Regions from separate parts of the Homo sapiens genome. Here region 2 is linked to region 1. The links are contacts of gene promoters, found by promoter capture Hi-C in human tissues and cell types (Jung and others, 2019). All regions are on one chromosome and are shown on one strand. The core of a region is centred on a gene start or on the middle of the fragment in contact, and the rest is flanking DNA. Distances in the headings are between cores, read along the strand shown. Region 1 holds the start of TRIM60 (tripartite motif containing 60). Region 2 overlaps SMIM31 (small integral membrane protein 31).

Region 1 (4,372 bases), core at 1,304-3,803:
AATACGAATATAGATTTTTTAATAGGAGTTTTATGTGGCACAAATTCAAGATATTCCAAAGATTTTTTTTGTTTCTCATGTTTCTGCTGACTGTAATGATAGATATTCTGTTTACAGAGAGCACCTTTGACAAAATTAGAGGGACCACAAGTAAATTGGCGTGAAGCTCCTTCCAAGAAGTATAATTCTTCAATTCCCATATGATAAAAGAACTTCCTCATTGAAGATTTAAGAGTTAAAAAGTGAACTGCACATGTTTATGTGTACATACATATGTTAACATAATACCATAAGAAAAATTTTAATTTTCATTAAATAAAATACGTAATTTTTATAGGTAATATATACATATCATGTAAAATATTTACATATAATATATACATATCATGCTACTATAATACAATAAAAATATTTATAATTATATGAAATTTTAAATATATATTAAAATATATGTGTTTCTAAAGTACATAAGTATTGCTAAAAATTAAAATACATGAGTCAGCAAGGTTCTTTCCCATGTGGCTACCCCCAGCTTAGGTCCTGCTGAAGGCTCCATGCCTTTTACTGAGTCTCCCTCACCTGTACCCCTAAGGTGATTCTCACTGAGATATTCTGTTCCCAGCAGAGGCTCAGAGATGCCCTGTGTGCACTAGTCAGGGGTACACAGAGGACCATGAGCTCCTTATGTCCTTGCAGAACAGATTCGTGGTCCTCCATCCAGAGCAGGAGCACAATACAATCCATCTTTTCTGTTTCTGTTTTGAGTCAGTCTCGCTCTGTCACTCAGGCTGGTCTTGAACTCCGGGCCTCAAGCAATCCTCTCCATTTGGTCTTCCAAAGTGCTGGGATTACAGGCGTGAGCCACCCGCCCAGCCTTTGGTTTAATTTTATGGTGGAATCTGGCCCCATTCAGCCTTAAGCCTTTAGAGTTTCCTTTCCTTCATCCCATTGGTCAGACTCCAGATCAGTGTCCTCCCAACCACAGCCTTTATCATCCTCTCTGTTTGCATCTTCTGCACTAAGGTGTGAAGATTTGAAGATTTCACTTATTGTTCCCTGTTCCTACTTCCCACTCTTCCATCAAATCTCAGACTTCATCACAAGAGGGTATTTTTCTGGGAAGGTAGCTCTAAGTTATTTTATTTATTTATTTTTTATTTTTATTTTGAGACTGAGTCTCACTCTATTGCCCAGGCTGGAGTGCAGTGACCCGATCTTGGCTCACTGCAACCTCCGCCTCCCGGGTCCAAGCTCTTCTCCTGCCTCAGCCTCCCGAGTAGCTGGGATTACAGGCATGCACCACCATGCCCGGCTAATTTTTTGTATTTTTAGAGAGACGGGGTTTTGCCACTTTAGCCAGGTTGGTCTCGAACTCCCGACCTCAGCTGATCCGCCCGCCTTGGCCTCCCAAAGTGCTGGGATTGCATGTGTGAACCACCGCGCCTGGCCAAGTAGCCCTACATTTTAAACAGAAAAGTGCGCCGGCCAGGCGCGATGGCTCACGCCTGTAATCCCAGCACTTTGGGAGGCCGAGACGGGTGGATCACGAGGTCAGGAGATCGAGACCATCCTGGCTAACAGAGTGAAACCCCGTCTCTACTAAAAAATAGAAAAAATTAGCTGGGCGTGGTGTCGGGCGCCTGTAGTCCTAGCCACTCGGGGGGCTGAGGCAGGAGAACAGCGTGAACCCGGGAGGCAGAGCTTGCAGTGAGCCGAGATCGTGCCACTGCACTCCAGCCTGGGCAACACAGCGAGACTCCGTCTCAAAAATAAATAAATAAATAAAAAAGTGCTATGCCGATTCTATGACTTCTTCTGCAAATATTAGCCTCTTTCACTGTCTCATTTACCAAGTTATAAGACTTAAGAGGCTCCTCACAAGGACTAATCCTTCAGCCTTGAAGATTTTACCGTCAAGTTTGTCCAACAAACTCATACTCGTCCCTTAAAATCTACTTTAAATATCAATTCCTCAGACGAGACCTTGGTGAGTCTTAGTTGGTAGGGTGGGGCCTAATCTCCAGGGTGGTAACTACGCAGCCTCTCAACCAGAGACGCAAACTGATCCAAAGAGCTGATTATTCCTCTTGCATTTTAAAACTAACCACCCTGGCCGGGCGCGGTGGCTCACAGCGAGGCAGGCGGATCGCTTGAGCCCATGAGTTCGAGACCAGCCCGGGGAACGTGGCGAAACCCAGTCTCCACCAAAAAATACAACAATCAGCTGGGCGTGGTGGCGCGCGCCTGTGAAGTGGGAGGATCGTTTGAGCCCGGATGGTCGAGACTACAGTGAGCCGAGACCGCACCAGACCCTGTCTCAAAAAAAAAGAAAAAAAAAAAGTTGCTCATAGGAATGAAAAATCTGAAAAGATTGCCATTGTGATTTAAATGACCCACTGAAGCCATCAGGGACCCCACCACGGAGGGAACCGCCCTAGGCTCTCCTCAGAATCTTCTCACGCTCCCTGCACCCTGCGGCATTGAGCATGCTCAGGCCTTTCCCGCCCACTTCCGGTGGAGCAGCCAACCACCGCGCTGGTCAATTGTATGCCTAAAACTCGAAAACCAAGGCGCCCAGGGTTGTGTGAGGGTTTCCGCTCTGCGCCCCGCGGGGTTCCATGGGTCCTGCACAGCATCAGGCCTGAGCCGCCGGTCCAACTGCTCCAGGTAAGCTGGGAGGGCCGCAGGAAAGGCGCAGTAGGGCCTGGCGGGAGGCTTACTTAACTGGGCAGGGGCTTCCTGAGTATCAGCTGTGCCCAAACCTCGGGGTCGCGACCTGTCCACGACTGAGCTCAGACTGTGGATCCTTTTTTTTGTTTCTGAGACGGAGTCTCGCTCTGTCACCCACGCTGGAGTGCAGTGGCGCAATCTCGCCTCACTGCAACCTCCGCCTCCCGGATTCAAGCGATTCTCCTGTCTCAGCCTCCTGAGTAGCTGGGATTACAGGCGCTCGCCACCACACCCAGCTAATTTTTGTATTTTTAGTAGAGACGAGGTTTCTCCATGTTGGCCAGGCTGGTGTCGAACTTCCGACCTCAGGTGGTCCGCCCGCCTCGGCCTTCCAAAGTGCTGGGGTTACAGGCGTGAGCCACCGTGCTCGGCCGGATTCTGTTTTCGCCGCGGAGGCAGTGGGACCCCGATGATTGAACTTTAAAGAAGATTCTGATCTGAACACCAGTTTGGGAAGTGGCCACGTGATCTCCAAAAATTATGGTGGGAGCGTTAAGGAAGGACCTCCCACCCTACAGCGCCAGCACTTCTCTGGCGGATTTTGTCTCCTTCCGTCCTCACAAGGATCTGGCTGTCAGGAAACTGCTACGGATGAGAAAGTTTAGGCTCACTTACGTTTCGTATCATCTAAAGTAATAGAGGTTGAATCTTGAGATCTGGGAATCTCCCACAGGTTTGATTTATATTCACTGAGCCCACACTATGAACCAGCACAAGAATCAGAGTAGGAGCCAGGCGCGGTGGCTCACACCTGTAACCCCATGAGGAGGCCGATGCGGGAGGATCGCTTGAACCCAGGAGTTCTAGCTCACGCTCGTGCCTGGGCAACATAGTGAGACCCCTGTCTCTACAAAAAAAAAAAAAAAAATCCGGGCATGGTGGGGCGTGCCTGTGGTCCCAGCTACTCGGGAGGCTGAGGTGCGAGGATCGCTTGAGCCTGGAGGCAGAGGTTGCAGTGAATGGAGATCGCGCCACTGCACTCCAGCCTTGGCGACAGAGTGAGATCCTGTCTCAAAAAGTAAAATAAATAAGGTAATAGAGGTTGAATTTTTCTTTTTTAATGTGACAAGATCTCAAGCAGTAGAGGTTGAATTTTGAGAGTAGGGAATCTACTGCAGGTTTGATTTATTAGCCTAATAATTATTGAACACACGTTGTACACCAGCATAAGAATCAGAGTTGGTAATTCAGTTGTGAGGAAAATAAGGAAGAATTCAGACCGTGAACTGTACTCTCCAGTGTCCTTAACCAAAGGTTGACAAAAATAAATGTAAAAATCTCAACTGTAATCTGCAGTATGATAGATATGTGGAGTCAGGAAAAGAGTAAAGTCCAGATGTTGGTGAGTCTTGTAATACTTAAGAGTAAGAAAAGCCATTCCATTGGAAATCGGAAGGTTATAGGATTAGATCTGTGTTTGGAAACTATAGAGTTATGGAATTGATTGACGGGATAGAGCATGTCAAAAATAAAGCCAGACACTGGGTAGTCATAAGGACAGATTTTAATCAGTACTGTACTATTGCAATAGGGAGAATTCAGCATGAACAGAACTCAACTGTGATTTGTACAGAGGTGACCAAGTGCTTCAAAGGGGAACTGGGGAATGAAGGTAGTGAGTTGGCGCTCAGTAGAGTCAGGG
Region 2 (4,372 bases), core at 1,035-3,534, 270 kb before region 1:
GTTAATTTTTTTCAAATGCCTTGTCAGTATTTATGGAAATGACCATATATGTAGTTTTCCTTTTTTTGTTTTTTTTTTTTTTTTTTTTTGAGACGGAGTCTCGCTCTGTCCCCCAGGCTAGACTGCAGTGACGTGATCTCGGCTGACTGCAAGCTCCGCCTCCCGGGTTCACGCCATTCTCCTGCCTCAGCCTCCAGCATAGCTGGGACTACAGGCGCCCGCCACCACGCCCGGCCAAATTTTTTTTTTTTTTTTTTTTTTTTTTTTTTTTTTTTTTTTGTATTTTTAGTAGAGACTGGGTTTCACCGTGTTAGCCAGGATGGTCTCGATCTCCTGACCTCGTGATCTGCCCGCCTCAGCCTCCCAAAGTGCTAGGATTACAGGCATGAGCCACCGCGCCCTGCCTCATATATGTAGTTTTTCTGCTTTATTCTGTTAATAGAGAACATTACAGTGATTGAATTCCAAATGTTAAGCCGACCCTGGGATAAACCCTGCTTACTCATTATAGTATCCTTTTATGTACATTGCTGGATTTCATTTGCTATCATCTTATTAGGATTTTTGTGTTTATGTACATTAAGAATATTAGTCCGCAATTTACTTTTGTTATTGTTTTTGTAATGTCTGCCAGTTTTGGATATCAGAACTAATCCAGGCCTCATAAAATGATTAGGAATTATTTCCTCTGCCTCTATTTTCTGATTTTATGTAAACTTTTTTTTCCTTAAGTGTTTGATAGAATGCACTCATCTTGTGAGAGCTCCTCACAATCTTTCCATGGAAAAGGAGACTGCTAATAATAATAGCTATCATTTTGTGAGGTCCTACAATGTATCAGTTACTTTATTTGGTATGTTACATATGTTAATTTAATCCTCACAACAACCCTGAGAATAGATATTATTCTTATGTCAAAAATACAAAAACTATATCTGTAAGTGCCAGGGGCTAGAATCAGGTATGACTCGAATGGGTAAGCTTTTTCCATTTAACTAAACTCCCTATCAAATTTATTTTTATAGTGACCTAAAGATATCCCTATCAATGAGGTATCATTCCACCAGGCAAATCTGTATCCACTTCATTAGATCTTCATTCATTCATTCATTCATTCACTGAATCATATTGGTAAATACTAATTGAGCTCCTCCTGGCTAAATATCTAGCCAGGTACTATTCCAAGCACTGTTCTAGGCTCAGCAAACAAAACACACAAAAATCCTCGCCCTCATGAAGCTTAAATTCTATTATACTAAACAATAAATACAATAAATAAGTAAAGATTAGAAGGTAATAATTGCTTTGCAAAAATATAACAAAGCAGGCTAAGGAGACTGCGGGGAGTTCCAACTTTTAATATGAGGGTGAGAGTAGACCACACTGAGAAAGTAACACCTCTGAGCAAAGGCTTGAAGGAGGTAAGAGGGTAAGCCATTCAGGTCTCCAGAGAAGCGCATTCCAGGTAAAGAGAATAGCCAGTACAAAGGCCCTCTGGTGGAAATATGCCTGGAGTGAAGGAGCAAAAGCCAGGAGGATAGTGCACCTAGAATGGAGGAAATGACGGGGAGGAAAGTAGGAGAGAAAGTCAGAGACAAAGCAGGACCAGATAATTTAGGGTCTTCCAACAGGACATTTGCAAGGATACTGGCTTTTAATCTGAGTGAAATAGGAGCCATAATAGAGTGTTGACTAGATAGGCAATGTAGTATGCCTTACAATCTTAAAATGCTGTCTTAAGGGTAGAAAGAAAAGCAAAGGGAGACATTGAGAGATCAGTTAAGACCCTATTTCATTAAACCTTGTGAGTAGTAGTGCTTCAAATCAGGGTGGTTGCAATGGAAGTGGTGGGATTCTGAATGTATGTTGAAGATAAAGCCAATAGGGGCCAGGCCTGGTGGCTCATGCTTGTAATCCCAGCACTTTGGGAGGCCAAGGCGGGTGGATCACTTGAGGTCAGGAGTTCAAGACCAGCCTGGCCAACATGGTGAAACCCCAACTCTACTAAAAAAAAAAAAAATACAAACATGAGCCAGGTGTGGTGGTGGGCGCCTGTAATCCTAGCTATTCAGGAGGCTGAGGTGGGAGGATCACTGGAACCTGGAAAGTGGAGGTTGCAGTGAGCTGAGATAACGCCACTATGCTCCAGCCTGGACAGAAGAGTGAGACTCCACCTAAAAAAAAAAAAAAAAAAAAAAAGATAAAGCCAATAGGATTTCTTGAAAGAAGAGGATATGAACTGTGAAAGAAAGATAGGAGTCAAGGATGACTTTGAGGATTTTATCCTGAACAACTAGAAACATGGAGCTACTGTCAATGAAAAGGGAAATAAAGGGGGTGAGACAAAGAAGGAATTCTGTTTTAAACACATTAAGTTTGAGAAATAGTATGTACAAGTCCAAGGATGCATGAGATCTTTGTCCAGTGAAATCTCTTAAGTTTCTTGAAGTTTAGAAATATTACATATTTTCTCAAAGCCAATTGCCCATCTATGATAAATATTTTATTGCCATTCTAAGCCAAAGAATTAAATGCTTTGGTTATTCTTCCCATTTTGAAACCAACCATATTTTCAAATATAGTAGTATTTGAGTGTGAATTTTTCATTTAAAAGAAAATCACAGGATTTACTAATAATTTATCTTTATGCCATAGCATAACTTTATCAGGGAAATAGTCTTTCTACTATGAAGAAGTAAATCAACAATTTAAGAATTCTAGGAAACAAATAGAACAATTTTCTTGAATTGATTTTTATTCTTTACATAATCATCTTAATTCTATTACTGAGTCATTCATCCTTATCTTAAAAAAATTCATAAATCACCTTTGAACCTTGGCGAGGTAGTTACAGTTTCTGCCCTTTGAAACCTAGCAAAATAGAAATTACAACACTGTTTCACATTATAAAAGAAGCCATAGTCAATTCCTCATGCCTACAGTAGAGTCTGTAGTTGCAAAGAGTTGGGTCAATTCTACTGTCCAGCAGCCCAGTGGCCCACCATCATAGTTATACCTGGATTGCAACAGGTAATCTCCACCCTGTTCATAAGACTCAGTTTAATAAGGTCTCTGGCTGGGCACTGTGGCTCACGCCTGCAATCCCAGCACTTTGGGAGGCCAAAGAGGGTGTCTCACGAGGTCAGGAGTTCAAGACCAGCCTGGCCAAGATGGTGAAACCCCATCTCTACTAAAAATACAAAAAAAAAAAATTAGCCAGGTGTGGTGGCTAGTGCCTGTAATCCCATCTACTCAGGAGGCTGAGACAGAGAAGTGCTTGAACCCGGGAAGGGGAGGTTGAAGTGAGCCGAGATCCTGCCACTGCACTCTAGCCTGGGCGACAGAGCAAGACTCCACCTCAAATAAATAAATAAATAAATAAATAAATAAATAAATAAATAATCAGGTCTCTGATGCTTTGCGTTGCCTCCCACTTCCAGAGCTCCTGCTAGCTCAGCCAATGTCGGCAGGAGGGAGGAGAAACGTGAAAGAGTCACCTCACCTCTCCACATGCCACCACCCCCAAAGCTCACACAGAGCTCACTCTACAGGGTCTAGTGGTTGTGAAATGGGAAACTGCTTGCAACTTTAAATAGGAACTTTGGGGTGTGAAGCTTATGACTGAAAGGGGACTATAAATATATCTTCCTTTAAATGGATAACAAGCATGGGCAAAAACAGAATAATCTCTGCAAAATTTTAGGGATTCTAAAGACTGGAGATATACCTAACATCAACAGAAAGTCAAGGAATTGGGAATAAGGTATAATGTTCTAAGTAAAGCCTTCTTCTATTTTAACAAATACCTAATTCAACCAAGATGACTGAATAAATGTTTAATTCAATCAAATGATTGAAAGTATTCAATATCTGGCCAGGCGTGGTGGCTCACACCTATAATCCCAGCACTTCGGGAAGCCGAGGCAGGCAGATTACTTGAGGTCAAGAGTTTAAGACCAGCCTGGGCAACAGGGTGAAACCCCATCTCTACTAAAAATACTAAAATATATATATATTTTGAACCCAGGAAGCAGAGGTTGCGGTGAACCAAGATCGCACCACTGCACTCCAGTCTGGGCAACAGAGTAAGACTCTGTCTCAAAAAAAAAAAAAAAAAAAAAGAAAAAGAAAAAGAAAAAGAAAGAAAGTGTTCAGTATCTAATCAGAGCGCACAATGCTGCTATAAAACAATGTACAGAACACTTGCTTATATTCAGTGCACACTTCATCTATCATATTGAAAGCATCGGAGCTACACAGTTGTGGGTGAGTTTATGTGATTCCACTCTGCCTAGAAGAATGAAACGCTTTGAAGAACATGCAAAGGGGAAAACCTAAAGATACCTGAATTCATGCTCTCCTTGGGCAAAAA

The links. Contacts are between HindIII fragments. The study calls those that stand out against the background at their distance.
Region 2: a contact is called between a fragment that was not itself captured here and the fragment with the promoter of TRIM60 in region 1, in 2 of the 25 tissues and cell types used here (H1 embryonic stem cells and hippocampus).

What each region holds. Positions count from the first base shown.
Region 1 is chr4:165,029,446-165,033,817 of GRCh38, forward strand. TRIM60 (tripartite motif containing 60) reads left to right here and starts at 2,554. Exons shown (of 3, transcript NM_152620.3): 1 at 2,554-2,667. RefSeq lists an enhancer at 2,056-2,712. The HindIII fragment of the contact is 10,604 bases long and covers 1-4,372 here.
Region 2 is chr4:164,758,563-164,762,934 of GRCh38, forward strand. The region is part of intron 1 of SMIM31 (small integral membrane protein 31); the gene reads left to right. Among named protein-coding and RNA genes, the nearest start is that of SMIM31, 6.6 kb to the left of the region's middle. The HindIII fragment of the contact is 4,152 bases long and covers 209-4,360 here.